4 separate regions of the Homo sapiens genome follow, and all the other regions are linked to region 1. The links are contacts of gene promoters, found by promoter capture Hi-C in blood cells and fetal thymus (Javierre and others, 2016). All regions are on one chromosome and are shown on one strand. The core of a region is centred on a gene start or on the middle of the fragment in contact, and the rest is flanking DNA. Distances in the headings are between cores, read along the strand shown. Region 1 holds the start of KLF4 (KLF transcription factor 4). Region 2 has its middle 500 kb from the start of KLF4. Region 3 has its middle 460 kb from the start of KLF4. Region 4 has its middle 370 kb from the start of KLF4.

Region 1 (3,797 bases), core at 686-3,185:
AGGTTGAAGGGAGCCGTCGGAGGGGGAGCGGACTCCCTGCCATAGAGGAGGCCTCCGCCCGTGCCGCCCGGCGCCACGCCCGGGTCGTTCCCGGCCCGGATCGGATAGGTGAAGCTGCAGGTGGAGGGCGCGCTGGCAGGGCCGCTGCTCGACGGCGACGACGAAGAGGAGGCTGACGCTGACGAGGACACGGTGGCGGCCACTGACTCCGGAGGATGGGTCAGCGAATTGGAGAGAATAAAGTCCAGGTCCAGGAGATCGTTGAACTCCTCGGTCTCTCTCCGAGGTAGGGGCGCCAGGTTGCTACCGCCGCAAGCCGCACCGGCTCCGCCGCTCTCCAGGTCTGTGGCCACGGTCGCCGCCGCCAGGTCATAGGGGCGGCCGGGAAGCACTGGGGGAAGTCGCTTCATGTGGGAGAGCTCCTCCCGCCAGCGCTGCGGGGACAGGGCGGGAGAGACCTGTCAGTGGTGGTCCCCTGTTGCCACCCGACATACTGACGTGCTGGCGGGCCACGCGCGACTGCACCGCCCAGACATGGGGACTGGTCAGGCAGGAAGCACCCGGGAACCCAGGGCGCCAGCGCTGCAATCTCGGCCCACTCCCGGGTCGAAGAAGAGGTGATGCGTCTGTATTGCGGGTGTTATGTCCTGTCTGCCCAATTGCGTGTGAGCGAGCGCCGCGGCTGGTCCCTCCCCCTCCAGGTCCCGTGGACGTCCCCGGAATTGGCACACCGAGGCTCTCTCGGTGCGCTCTCGCCACGGGGCCGCCTACGCGCTAAACTCACTCTGGCCCAGCCAGTGTCTGGGGACGCGGCCACCTCCCGCCCGGTGGCCCGAGAGCGCCCGCCCTACCGACAGCGCGCCCGGGGACTGGTGAAGACCCGGCTTGCGCCCCAGGCGGCTCCGCAGTGCTCGCACCACGGGCATACACAGCTGAGCCAAGGACACGGAAGCTATCCCGGGAAGGTTGCGGAGTCCGCGCGGTGGCCGCTCCTTACCCTCGTTCAGTGGCTCTTGGTGACCCCAAGGCTCCGCCCGCCCCCACCACACCCACGAAAACCCACCGGGCGTTCCCGGCGGCCCGGAGCGATACTCACGTTATTCGGGGCACCTGCTTGACGCAGTGTCTTCTCCCTTCCCGCCGGGCCAGACGCGAACGTGGAGAAAGATGGGAGCAGCGCGTCGCTGACAGCCATGTCAGACTCGCCAGGTGGCTGCCTGCGAGCAAGGCAGGGAGCGGAGACAGGAGAGTCAGGGGCGGCTTTCGGCCGTCGTTCCGGCGCGTCCCACCGGTCCTCACCCCTCCCTGCTCCCAGCGCCGCGCGCCTCACCTACCTCATTAATGTGGGGGCCCAGAAGGTCCTCGGCAGCCCGAAGCAGCTGGGGCACCTGAACCCCAAAGTCAACGAAGAGAAGAAACGAAGCCAAAACCCAAAACCCCAAATTGGCCGAGATCCTTCTTCTTTGGATTAAATATAACTTGGAAGCGTCTTTTTTAAAAAGTTCCTTTGTATACAAAAGTTCTTAGAAAAGTTGTAAACGCAAAAATAGACAATCAGCAAGGCGAGTAAGTAGGTCCGGTGGCCGGGCTGCGCTCTCTTCCACTCAGCAGCGTCCCCCACCACTGTCGCGGTCGCCTCGAGTGCTGCCGTGGGCGCAGGGGCTGTGGCCGGGGCGGTGGGCGGGCGGTGCCGCCAGGTGAGACTGGCTGCCGTGGCGCGGAGCTGCGAACTGGTCGGCGGCGCAAGGCGCGGACTCCGGTGAGTTGTGTGGAGCGCGCGCGGCCATGGGCGCGGGCCACGGGCGGGTGGGAGGGTGGGGGGCCAGAGGGGCGGGGGAGGGTCACTCGGCGGCTCCCGGTGCCGCCGCCGCCCGCCACCGCCTCTGCTCCCCGCGCGCCCGCAGACACGTTCGTTCTCTCTGGTCGGGAAACTGCCGGCCGCCGGCGCGCGTTCCTTACTTATAACTTCCTTCGCTACAGCCTTTTCCTCCGCCTTCTCCCATGCCCCGCCCCTCCCTTTCTTCTCTCCGCCCCCCCCGAGGCTCCCTTCCATCGTTGCTATGGCAGCTAAATCAACAAACTCGGCGCACGTGGGGGCGGGGGAGGGGAAGGAGGGGCGCGGGCGGGGCTGGGCCGGGCCGTGACGCCAGCCAGGCAGCTGGCGGGCTGGAGCCGAGCTGACGCCGGCGGCAGTGGTGTCGGCGGCGGCGGCGGCGTCCGCCCCAGCGCGGGGCGCGAGGAACCGGGCGCAGGTTCGGTCGCTGCGCGACCAGGGCCGTACTCACCGCCATTGTCGGCTCCCTGGGTTCGAAGCCCGCGAAGACTGGTGGGGTCAGCGGGCGGCACGGTCACGCGTCCGCACCCCTGCTAGCATACGCGCTTGCCGCGCTGTCTGCGCGCTGGAGAAGAGCGCGATTATCCGCGTGACTCATCCAGCCCTCCATCTCCCCCTCCCTCTCTGCGCTCGCAGGAGTCCGCTCTCGTCGCTCAGCGCCAGTGCCGGTGGCGGTGCCGGCGCTCGGCCTGACCTCGCACGGTTCCTCGCGGGCCCTTCTGCTGAGGGGTGGGGGGCGCTAGGGGTGTGGAGAGGAGGCAGTGCCCAGCACTGTGCAGCGTGAACTGGGAGCCTCAAGAGAAGGCCAGAGGAGTGTTCCGCCGGGAACAGGCGGAAAGAGGCACGAATGGGGAGTTATGGTTTTGATACTTTAAATAGCGAGAAAGGGAGTGAAAGGGCTCAAGATTTACTCAGAGGCATAAGGGAGAGAAGAGGGACTGTGAGGCGCGGAGACAGTTTTCAACCAGCCATCTCGAAGCCCTTTCCTTTTTTTTTCTTTCTTTTTTTTTTTTTTGTGAGACAGAGTCTCGCTGTGTCGCCCAAGCTGGAATGCAGTGGCACGATCTCAGCTCAGTGCAACCTCCGCCTCCTGCGTCCAAGCGATTCTCCTGCGTCAGCCTCCCGAGTAGCGGGGATTACAGGCGTGCGCCACGACGCCGGCTAATTTTTGTATTTTTCGTGGAGACGGGGTTTCACCATGTTGGCCAGGCAGGTCTCGAACACCTGACCTCAAGTGATCAGCCTGCCTCGGCCTCCCGAAGTGCTGGGATTACAGGCGTGAGCCACTGCCTGTAATATTTGATGACTAAATTGCACTGTAGAATAATAATAATAATAGAAGACACCCATTAAAGAAGAATTAAACACTCACTGATGACTTTTCAAGCCACGCACTCTCCTTTCCACTTTATGGATGAGAAATTGAGTCATAAAGAGGTGAAATGGCCAGTAAAGGTCAAAGGACAACTCGTTCCTTCGGCTCAGGCTCCGGGTAGGTCAGGCCCCCCTAAAGGGACTTCCCTGGGAAGTGACCATGTGCCAGGAAGTGGAGCGATGCGGTGGGATCCTAGCTCTCAAAAAGTGCACACCGAGCCCGCCGCAGGCGTCCTTGCCCACCGGGAAGGGAATAGGAAACGGCGATCTTTACTTCAATCTTATAACGCTGCCTCCCCCACCCCCACTCTCCCCTTGGTTTGTGATCAGTAATTTTCCAGCTGGGAAATGTTTTGCTCTCATCTTCTTAGCAAACAGTATTTTTTTTTAAAACGTGAATGTGGTGTTCGGTATCACTTTCTAAACGTAGGTTTGGCGAGGTGTTTACTTTGGATTCCGGCGTTCGGCGCGGGACTCCGCCCCCCTCTCCACGGAGCCCCCTCACCGGCGAACGCTGGCGCTTAGGCTGGTGTCAACCTAGGAAAGAGAAGAGAGGGGACACTGGGGAAAGTGGTGGAAGCTCGGGCAC
Region 2 (3,797 bases), core at 560-3,059, 500 kb after region 1:
TACCTACCTGAAATTGATGTTACAGGTAATAAAGGAAATATTACGCATTAAAAGCATTTGTTAAAAGGTAAAATGATATCCACATGTTAGTTATTATTGATTATTTTCATTATTATTGAGTAATCACCAGCCATGACACCACTCCCTGTGTGGTGTCTCTGGGGCTGGTGTTCTAGACTGAGGGATTGCAGCATCAACATTAACACATTTCACAGGCTCCAGAATAGCACTGATCACGGGAAAGATTTATAAATAAGTCCCCCACCTAATCAGGAGCAGATCCAAGGATTCTGACTTTCTTTTGAATAATGGCAGCAGAGACTATGGCACAGAGAGAAGGCCTGGAAATGGGCTTTCTTAAGTTCCCATGAGCAACATCAGCAGGGCTTCTGATCCATGGTAGATCCCACACTTGGTCTCTTTCTCAGTTGACTGGATCTCTCTCCGTTTCAGAGATTGAGGAGGAGAGCATATCAACAGCAGAACTGATCGCCATTCTCAGGAAAACTCACCAGCAATCATCCAGAATCCCCATGTAAGGCCAATTACTTTTGGGTCGTAGAGCCCAAGATGGGTTCCAGGATCTCACTTGAGGAAGCATCACAAAACCTGGGAAAACTTCATAATCTCCACAAACCAGCATTTTAATTCTAATAGTCTTGGAGTCCTGAGTCACTCTGGAGGGTTGGGGGTTGGCTTCAACATTTCTCCCAGGAGGCCATAGCATGTTTTTGCAAATAGACTCTCGAAGAGCATCTCAGATGTTCCAGACTTTTTCAAGGGGGTTGCAGGAATTCCCCTGTGCTGCAATAATGTAATAGAACTCACCAGGGCTTAGTCAGGCCAAACTACCATAGTTTCATGAATTCATCGTACAGTTTCATGCCGCTCCACCTTTAAACATGTTTTCCCTCTGCTTAGAGGAATTATTCCTCCCCCTGCTTTCCTGCGCTTCCCTATTCATCCTTTAAAACCTCATCTCAAAGTTCCTCTGTGAAGACATTCCTAATTTTTACCCTCCCTCTATTCCATCAACAGACTTGGCTTCAAATCTCAGGACGTGGCCCATTTAATGAGTTCTCAAGAAATGATTATTGTTTTCTCAAATTCTTGGAGTTGACCTGGTTTCTTCTCCAGCCTCTGACAGTCAGACCAAATGCAATGCAGGCGGCTAGAAATCAACTATGCAGTTGTGAAACCTGCAATTTGAAGCAAGATTCTTGATTGCTCAAATGAGAGTTATGTAAGCTTTGTTTGCATGGTGCAATGGGCAGGAGGACCTCACTGTGAGCAGAGTTTTGGAGGCTATTTCTGGTGTGACAGCACCTCTGCTTCATTTCCACCAAAACCATCATATCTCCCAGCCCCAGTAGAATTCCTGGTTCAAAGCAAGCACTCAACACAGATCTGCTGTTTCAGGGAGATGATAAAACAAGCTCAGTGAGAAGAGGATCCCACGAGGCTTTCCCAGTCTTTCTCTACAATACTTAGTGACCCATTTGCAGAAACCCATCCTGGCTGCCTGAAAGGCCATTTCCCCATCTTAAGATAGTAATCAGGACAGAGGAGGGAGGCTCATTATTGATAATGAGGCTGACTAGCAGTAGGCGTCTGGTGACAGACGCCATCACAGCTCACAGTGGTTATTATTGTTTTATCATTATTACTATCAATTTTTTTCTTTTGCTTTTTTATGGTATGAAAATTATCACTTAATATTCTTGGAAAGTCATTTTCACTCCATATTTTTTCTATTTCCTTTTTCTATTTGGATGTCCTTAAAAATTTCTACCAGGAGAAAGGGCTCAACCAAGGAAAATTAAAACTAGCATCCCTATACATCAACTCAGCCTAAAGTAGAATAAGGCAAATCCTTAGTCCTGAGATGTGGAACTTTTGACAGGCCATGTTTTTAGATCCATTTCAACCCATCTCAACGCCTCCTTTCCGAGGAGACATTTCTTTGCCCCTCAACAGAGGTGGCCTTTCCTCCTTCACATCTCGTTTTTTTCTAAATAACATTATCATAGCTGTTTATGTGGCCTAGTACTCTTAGTAAATTAAGAACTCCTTGATTTTGGAGACCATAGTAATTTTGTTTGGTGGAAAAAACAATGCTCTGGAGACAGATGTTTGGGTTTAAATTTTTCTGTCATTGGTTAAGTGTGTGACATTATATAAGTTACTCATCTTTTCTCAATTGATTTCATCATGTATGATACATGGATAATACAACCTACTTTGCAAGTTAGTTGTGATGATAGAGTAAGATACCGTGAATGAAGGGCTTGGCCATGCAGGTTAGTGCCGTGGGATCACACAGCCTCCCCACTAACTAGCTGCTCAGCCTGGTCAAGTTATTTAACCTTCTAAGCTTCAGTTTTCTCTACTGTAATATAGGAGAACCAACAGGTTCCTTCTCATAAGGTTTTGAGAGGATGGAAGGAGCTAATAGATATGAAGAGCTCAGCACAGAGCTTGACAGAGAGTGCTCAGTAAATGTCTGTTATCAGTGCTTCATTCATTTTTTATTCCCTCTCTCCACCTCAGTCTTCTGAAGCATCCTACCTGATGCCTGGCAGAGAGGCAGTAAATATTGTTGAACTAAAACCATGTTGTGTTGCGTGGCATGTCATATGACAGCTTGGATGGTCATTTCCCCTGCTTTCATGGTTGTTTCAAGGATTTCCTTGAAATAAAGTTCCATATTTAAAAGGAGAAATTCAGCTAAAATGTCAAGAATTAGCTACTTTGAGGAGAAGGGAAATAAGCTTATGATTAAATACAGAAAGGGGATAGAGAGAGAAAGAGAGAGAACAGGAATTAGAGATTAGAGGCAGGGTGACTAAATGGGATAAGACAGGGTCAGGGGACATTCTGACAGAGGAAGAACTAGGTGAAACTTGCACAGACTCCTCCTACAACCATCTAGGATCCCTAGAGGATGCTGGATGTTGGAGACAGGGTCATTGTCCCTAGATTGGTGGTGGTAGTTGGGGGATAGAAGGGAGTAGATACATTCCACACTCTTCACCTCACCAGGAAGCCCTGGCATCCAGGAATCTGTGACCAAGATGGACCCAGCCCCATAAGAACTGCTCAGAAGAAACCTGGTGAGGTCCCTGCTGGCTCCATTAGCCAGTGGCCCCAGTGACCCAGAGCATGCTTCTCCAGAAACCACGTGTCCTTCTTAGTCAGAATTGTTGCCTCTCAGAGACTTCGGGGGCCCTGGACAGGCCCCTCCACCCTTGGTCTGGCAGCAGAGCCCAATCAAAGGCAGTTGCTGGGCTGTGGGCCGTGGCAGGCTTGGCCAGGTCCTGCTGTGTCCAGTGAGTCAAGCACAACCTGCAGCCGGCAGAATGACTTAGAGCCTGGGATCTCTGCTGCAATTAGAATGTGTAATTGGAAAATCTCAGACAATCTTATTTGGGAGAATTCTTTTCACCAAAACCCAAGAAATTCTTAGAAACCTTCCAGAAATCCATGCCTGCAGCAAAGTTTTCCTTTGTCTCAGAACCGGCTCTGGAGGGAACACTGTCTTTCTTTAATTCTTTTGTTACTAGACAAAACAGAAATCTGCTCCTACCCTGGAAGGGGCTTTGAGGTCAAGGACATATGAGTTCACAAAGGAGGTTTTACTTATCAGAACATTCTACCAACAAGTTAGGTAACTGCTTTGAATCCCTCACTATACCAAATACCATTTCCTTAAGGAAGTCACAGGAGACACCATCGGTTCATTCACACATGATAGCTCCAGATTTTTGAACATTGTGGTTTTGGATAAAATGCAGTTT
Region 3 (3,797 bases), core at 587-3,086, 460 kb after region 1:
TGGACTGAAACTTAAAGGGTCATTGGGAAGAGGTGATGAGGAAGGCGAGGTAATATGAGAAAAGACATGGTATTATAAAATACCACAGTTTGTTCAGGAAACTGGAGTTAAGTGTCAAGCAGGTAGCATTGATGGGGGAGATGCGGAACATGGAAGAGAAGAGAGGATGGAAGGCCTTGACTAACATCTTAGAAGGGTGTTGCATGGTTAAATTTTCACTCCAGATAGATCCATAGAACATAAATCAATGAAACCGGGACATTCTCCCTCTCTCAAAAAAATATATATTTTTCTCTCTTGAGAATATATACATATACACACACACACATATATATAGAGAGAGGAAATATATATAGAAAACAGTTATATATATATAGAAAAAATATAGAGAAAAACATTTAACTATATACAAAATACATGTTTAGAGGGAAATATATATGGAAAATATTTGATACATAGAAAATATTTAGAAAGAAATATAGAGAAAGATAACATATATGTATATATGTATGTATGTGCGTATATATATTTTTTCTGGTACTGAAAAAATGCCTATCACATAATGTGTGTTCAAAATATATCTAGATGCTTGAATCACTCTAGATGTTGTGTGAATGATGGAGTTGAAGTGAACAGAGGATAGAGGCTCCAGTTTCATTTAGAAGGTTGTCATATTGATTTAGGCAAAAATGATGAGGTTTCAAGTCATGATGGGGACAGATATAATGTGGAAAAGAGGACCAATTATAGACACATTTAAGAGGAAAAAATATGGAAAACTTGATAATTGATTGTATGTGGCAGCAGACCAGGCACTGAGGGGAAAAAGGATATTAAGAACGACTCCCAAGGGTCTGGCTTGGGAAAGTGGGTGGGTGGATTGTGCTCATGGAGAGTGAGATCACAGGAGGAGGAACAGATCTTGGACAATCATGAGGAGTTTAATATGAAACATATGGAAGTTGAGGGCATTTTGAGGGGCACCTGGAGCACATGAAAAAGTTTGTGAAGGAGATAAACGTCTATAGGCTGGGCTTGTAATCCCAGCACTTTGGGAGGCTGAGACGGGTGGATCACTTCAGGTCAGGAGTTCAAGACCAGCCTGGCCAATGTGGTGAAGCCCCCCCCCCCCCCCCCGTATTAAAAATACAAAAATTAGCCAGACATGGTGGCACACACCTGTATTCCCAGCTACTCGGGAGGCTGAGGCAGGAGACTCGCTTGAGCCTGGAAGCAGATGTTGCTGTGAGCTGAGATCGCACCACTGCACTCTAGCCTGGGTGACAGAGTGAGAATCTGTCTCAGGAAAAAAAAAACAAAAACCCAAACCAAACGAAACTAAGAAACATCTACAGGGCCGCCGCAGACGGGTGGTAAGCGAAACTTCTAGACGGCATGGTAGCTCTATGAGACTGGGTAGAAACAAGAGTGAGCAGGACAAGGCACACAACCTAAGAAACTCTGGCATTTAAGGGGTCATCACAGAAAAAAGAGATTAAAAATAAGTGAAGAAGGAATAAGAACCAAGAGTGAATTCCAGAGAGAGCTCGTGGGATGGAAGCTAATGACAGTAAGAAACTCAGGAAGGTTGATTAGCAGCGTCTATGCTGCAGAAAGGCCCAGAAGATACCAATGGAAAGGGCCAACTGAATTAGCCAATTAGGAAGTTTACCAGTGAACTTGGAGAGCACCGGGCTGGTAGAGTTATGTCTGAAATTAGATTAACATGGGCTAAACAGTGAGTGGGAAGTAAGAAAATGAAGATAACATTAGCAAGAAGTATGGCAGAGGGATGGAGAAAGGGATAACAGGAGATTTAGTGGCAAAAAGAGGTATAGGAGATTTGCAATACACATCTAAATATTTAAACAAATAACCAGGAACCAACCATAAGCTCTTTTGCCTTTGAAGTTGGAGGTGGTATCCATAAATTGGATTTTGACACCAAACGTTCGGTTGATCACATTAGAGAGTTTAAGCTGTGCTGCTTCCACTTGTACCCCCGAGGGCAAGACCTTCCACTTAGATACTTGGGCAGGCAAAGATACTCCTTTCCTCAGTGGCCTCAGCATCCTTACTGCTCAGGATGCAGCTGATTCCAACAACCAAAAGGTGCATATGAGAGGGACCCAGCGAGAAACTGGCCTTACTAATTAGTCAAGCTCCTGTTGGGAAGTGTGAGACCTTTAACTGGAAGTTGGAGAGCAATGATACCCTCAGCATTGTACTGAAGATGCAGAGTCACCAAATTCTCCTGAGCCTGCAAAGGCTTAAATTAAGATAATAATTTCTACCTCATCAACCTATTGACAGTATGAAATACACTAATATATTTAAAGGGCTTAGCAAGAGGCCCAGCATATAAAAAGTGCTCAGTAAACAGTAGTTCCTTTCTGTGACTAAGTTGCTTCATTATCTTCTCCCTGATGTCAGTTTCTGGGTGCCGCTGATAAACCTTGATGTCCGTAATGTGATTGACTATATGGCACCTCTAGAGGAGAGAGGTGAGATGCAGCATGGCACTAGAGAGACAAGATGTCAGGCACTTAGGCTCTTAATGCTGGCTCTGACTGTTAGAAATAACTTTAAACACTCTCTCATTCCTGCCACATCATCCACCCCTTGGATCCCAGCTACTATCTCATGGTTGTGTCTTTGGACAGGTCTCTTCACCTCTCTGCTCTTCACCTTCCTAGAAAATGAGATAATTGTGAAATAAGTGAAAGTACTTTGAAAAGTATAAAGCACTGTCCAAATATAATATTTTAATTACAGTTAAGGTGATTGCTTATTTAATTCATAGAGAAGATTATTCTTGCCTCAACTAAATGATTTAGGGACAAATATTTTTAACTTGAATCACGCAGATGATTGCTTAGGCTCTCCAACTCCCATTGGTTGTGTTGACACAGCTTTTGGAATTTGAAAAGGAGTTCCTCCATGAACATGAAATTGGAAACTTCTTTTTCTTGGACGTGGCTTTTTGCAGTATCTTTGAATAATTCTTCAGATTCTTCAGACTGGATGGATTCTTCCTATGACCAAAGTTCTCAACTGGTCAAAGGCAAAACCCACCTCCAGTTTCTTGGAAGTATCTCTTGTTAAGCCAGCCCTACTCCTCTTTATCTGAAAGAGAGAGTAAATGTAGGCATACGATGCCTTTAAACACATAGGGCAGTGCCTGCCTTTATTTACTAGCTAGAAAAGAATTATCTGCTGGGCAGTGTGACAAAATTACATTGTGATTTCTGGTTCTCCAAAGCGGAAGAGGGAATACAATTCCTTCCCAAGAACTCTTCGGTTTGGCAGTTGGGGTTGTTTGAGCTGTGATAAAGGCTAATATTTATTCAGCCACCTTCCCAAATCCAACCTGCTACTTGGAATCTGCTCAGTGGTGATCAAGCGTTAGTTATCTCAGTGCCCTGTTTGTTCTCACAGCCAAGAACCCAGGCTGGTATCAAATGCCAATATATCATGTCTCAAGGACTGGCTTACTGAATCATGTGGCAGGGCCTGGAGGGGGATTTCCAGTTTAATTTATTCTAGTGTGTAGAAAGATAATGCACAAAATAATGAAATGTGAGAGTTAGTTGGGGATTCAAAACCCAGCGAAAGATCCTGAAGCATTATAGAGAAATGATCAGCCTCCCAGATAGGATTAGTGACTTTCCTGGGTCACTTAGCTGGTTAGTTGCAGAGTCATAGCCAGAGTTGCCATGGCTAGGGTTACCATTTATTGAGTAACAGCTATGTCCTAGGCATTGGGCACTTGGCATACATTATCTTGGTTCTCACAA
Region 4 (3,797 bases), core at 882-3,381, 370 kb after region 1:
AGGAGGTTGCAGCAGGAAAATCCCTCAAGCCCAGGAGTTGGAGGCAGCAGTGAGCTAAGGTTACACCACTGCATTCCAGCCTGGGTGACAGAGCAAGATCCCATCTCTTAAAAAAAAACAAAAAAAAACCCTCATAAACAAATACATCTAATCTCAGCCAGCTTTTGAACACAAAAATAAGATTTCCATACAATGGATACCTTGTATTTTATAAAATAATCTCTTTTAACCTCTTACATAATATCTTACAATCTTATAAGATTATAATCTCTTGTATAATTCTTTTTATCTTCTTTCCCCAACATTTATATTCATTTAGTTTTATCTATAGCATATTTTCCTTCATTTTGAAACAACTTTTACATAACCTCAAAAAGAGACAAAATTACTTTTTGTTTGACAACATACTCATCCTCATGTCTTTTTTATAACGTTCTTCACCAAAAAACACCCATCTCACTTTATTTATTTATTTGAATTACAATGTGACTTTTCATACTTTGGAGTGAGCCCCACAGGAATAAAAAACACTGGGAAGGGAAGACCACTTGACCCTGAGGAGTGGCCCGGGGGGAGAGAGGCTACCTCAGGGGAAGGAAGCACAAAAGAGATGCCCTGCAGGCTCAGGGCAAAGGGAATGCCATCGGTGCTGGTACCTGTGAGCACTACAGGAGGAAATGTGAGTACGGTTGGACTGGCTTCAGGCACACTGGCAAACGGCAAGAGGGCTGGACACAAAGCCACAAATCTACTTGGGTCCTCCTTCTCCTTTTTTATTTTTATTTTTGAGATGGAATCTCGCCCTGTTCCCCAGGCTGGAATGCAGTGGCATGATGTCAGCTCACTGCAACCTCCACCTCCTGGGTTCCAGTGATTCCCCTGCCTCAGCCTCCGAAGTAGCTGGGATTACAGGCGTGTGCCACCATACCTGGCTAATTTTTTTTTGTATTTTTAGTAGAGATGAGGTTTTGCCATGTTGGCCAGGCTGGTCTTGAACTCCTGACCTCAGGTAATCCACTTGCCTCGCCCTCCCAAAGTGCTGGGATTACAGGCGTGAGCCACCATGCCCGGCCTGGGTTCTCCTTCTCATTTGCCTTTTTCTGCTTCTGCTGAATGGTCTCCAAGTCCCTCTGCTTGCAGGAGGCAACAGAAAGCCCATCATCTTGGTGCTTTCCCCTTAACCAAGTCACTCTGCTTTTTCATATTCTTCTGGTGGGCAAGTTCACCACAGTCATGGCTACGGCAGGGCAGCAGCTCTTACCTGCCTCTGTTGTGTCCCTCTTTCTGTCCGTATCTCACTTAATATGCTCCGTATACCGAATTGTTTCTTTTTTATCTCGTACTTTTAACTACAATTAACTATTACAATTAAAATTAACTACAGTTTCAACCCTTAGTAACCCTAATTTCCAGTGAAAAACCTAGGAAGTAATCTGAACTGTTTTATATCAGTATTTATAGATAAAAACCATTTCATAAATTTTTAGAAAGATATGTTCCCAGCTGAGCATGGTGGTTCACATCTGTAATCCCAGCACTTTGGGAAGCCAAGGCAGGAGGATCACTTGAGGCCAGAAACTCAAGACCAGCTTGGGCAACACAAGACTCTCATTTCAAAAAATAAAAGAGATATGTTTCCTCAATTTTTTTTATTTACTAACAGATCTAAATATATTTAGCTTTTCTATACGATGTAAAATAAGATGAAGTATAGAAACTTAAGCTTATGTTTAATAATTAGTGTTTTAGTATTTTATAATAACTTAGAAATGACTCAAACATTTTATGATTATCTGTTACTTAATTTAACATAATGTGTCTTTAAGATTTTTAAATTACTGAAAAGAATCTTCAAACTATGACACAGGTACACTACCTAATGTCTTCTACAGTCATACTGAGTCTCAAATACCACATGGCACCCGGGACAGCTACGAAAGGCAGGGACCTTCTGAATCCTGAATTTACACAGCAGGTGTAGAGGTCAGAACACTGGATGGAGCTGTAAAGAGAATGCCTGGAGGATCTGACTCTTCCTAGTATAACCAAGAAGCAAAGCTGGGCCATATTGGGCCTGGCTCTGCATTGGAGCTGGTGGCCCAGGCATTGACAACACAGGATGTGTCCCCAAGCCCACAATAGCCACTTGACCAGGCCCCAGTATCCAGAGGCTCAAAACCAAATACTTATGTAAGCTCCCAGTAAGATGTGTGCAAACCTTCAGGGGAGCCCAACAGCCAGCCCTTATAGCTTTAGCTTACAGATAAATCAAGCAAGTATCAAAAATATTATAGAAGCAGCAGTTTTGTTGCCTTAAAACATGTATTAGAGACAGCGTAAACCTGTCTGATCAGTAGATCCAGGCAAAAATGTTTGAATTATATTTAATACTGACAATTCTGGAGATATTCCTATTTTATTATACCAACAATTTTAAAACTAGCTTTATCTACCAAGTATCATTTTAGAGCACATAGAAATATCACATGAACATAACATATATAGACACACAGATATACAGACACACAGAAGCACATCTTAAAGCTTTCATGAAGGTTTTGCATTGGCCAGTTTACAAATAATTTTTCTTTCCTCTATTCAGACTATCCATTTCCCAATTACCTATTTCATTGTCCTAAGTAATTGTTAGTTATGTAACCCTACATTTACACTTCTAAACGGATGCCTTTTAGGTGAAACAAAGGAGAAAACGTGTATCTCAAAAGCACAGAGACTTCAGGCCTAATCATTATACCATCATTTGCTCAAATCAACAAAGGAGAGTGTAGGTAAGGGCCCAGTTAAAATGGCCAGGAAAATCACCTTATAGGTAACACATGTTATGTAAATCTAATCTACCTTTCACAGTTTCTAGTGACTCAGTCCTCCCTCTCTTCCCAGTGCACAGAGGAGTCAATCTTAAAATCTAAGATTTCCTTTATAGATGTATTTTTTAAAATATAAAATGGTTTTAAAATAGCTAGCTAAGTGCCAGAAAGATGTATTTTGGAGACCAACTTAGTTCAATAGGTGGACTTTTAAACTTAGTGTCTGTTTCTTAGCTAAAATTACAGAGTTCAGGGTGAAACCCATTAAAGAATAGGGCAGGGAAAGCATTCTCTATGCCTGAACTCAGCATGGATAGCTCTGAAAAATAATTAAGCCCTCTTTACCTGAGGGCCTGCCTTTTGTAAATACTACAGCCAACTTTCTTTTCACCTTCAGGGCAGAATAGAAACTAAGCCAAAAAGTTAGCAGATTCAATTTTTCTTATCAATTAATTGCTTAAGCTTTCTATTTGCCTTTCAAAAAGCCTTTTTAAAAAGATAATAAAAATATTAGAATCTTTTTAGAAGCTTCTGCCCATCACTAGGCATTCCTGGATAAGCCTAATTTCAGGAGCCCTCACTTTTAAATGCCTTTCTTAAAGTGCAGTGTTGTTCATTTGGAAAGTTCTACTGTAATTTTAAATTATCTTTATTAAGATTTTGCCAACTTTGTGTTTTCTGCTTCTATAGCTGGAAGATGGAGAGCTCAGTTCTTCAAAAATTAAGGGTCCTATTGTTGTGGAACTTTTCCTTAGCTCAGCTAAAGATGGGGTTCTTGTTTCATGGCCACAAAAGATTAGGCCTGCAGACAATTTGAAGGGTGAGTAAGGCAGGGTTTTACTGGGTGAAAAGGGAAAGAATGGGAAACGGGCCCTCAGCAAAGCCAGAGTCCCTGCTGGTGCACTTCCTGCCTTGCAGTTTGAATCCCAGGTTCCATACAGGAAGAGGAGGGGCCAGGCTCCTCCTGGC

What was found. Contacts are between HindIII fragments. The CHiCAGO score rates a contact against its expected background, and 5 or more counts as called.
Region 2: a fragment that was not itself captured here is called in contact with the fragment with the promoter of KLF4 in region 1 in 2 of 17 cell types (monocytes and M2 macrophages); the score reaches 5.4 in monocytes.
Region 3: a fragment that was not itself captured here is called in contact with the fragment with the promoter of KLF4 in region 1 in 1 of 17 cell types (monocytes); the score reaches 5.0 in monocytes.
Region 4: a fragment that was not itself captured here is called in contact with the fragment with the promoter of KLF4 in region 1 in 1 of 17 cell types (M2 macrophages); the score reaches 5.6 in M2 macrophages.

Annotation. Positions count from the first base shown.
Region 1 is chr9:107,487,834-107,491,630 of GRCh38, forward strand. It overlaps KLF4 (KLF transcription factor 4), which reads right to left and starts at 1,936. Exons shown (of 5, transcript NM_004235.6): 1 at 1,335-1,936; 2 at 1,097-1,217; 3 at 1-434. The coding sequence starts at 1,339. RefSeq lists silencers at 748-797, 1,449-1,648, 2,008-2,217. The HindIII fragment of the contact is 11,219 bases long and covers 1-3,797 here.
Region 2 is chr9:107,988,503-107,992,299 of GRCh38, forward strand. No RefSeq gene overlaps it. Among named protein-coding and RNA genes, the nearest start is that of KLF4, 500 kb to the left of the region's middle. The HindIII fragment of the contact is 1,126 bases long and covers 1,247-2,372 here.
Region 3 is chr9:107,943,219-107,947,015 of GRCh38, forward strand. No RefSeq gene overlaps it. Among named protein-coding and RNA genes, the nearest start is that of KLF4, 460 kb to the left of the region's middle. RefSeq lists an enhancer at 3,403-3,547 and a cis regulatory region at 3,475. The HindIII fragment of the contact is 4,438 bases long and covers 1-3,797 here.
Region 4 is chr9:107,853,035-107,856,831 of GRCh38, forward strand. It overlaps the pseudogene LOC101926973. Among named protein-coding and RNA genes, the nearest start is that of KLF4, 370 kb to the left of the region's middle. The HindIII fragment of the contact is 821 bases long and covers 1,722-2,542 here.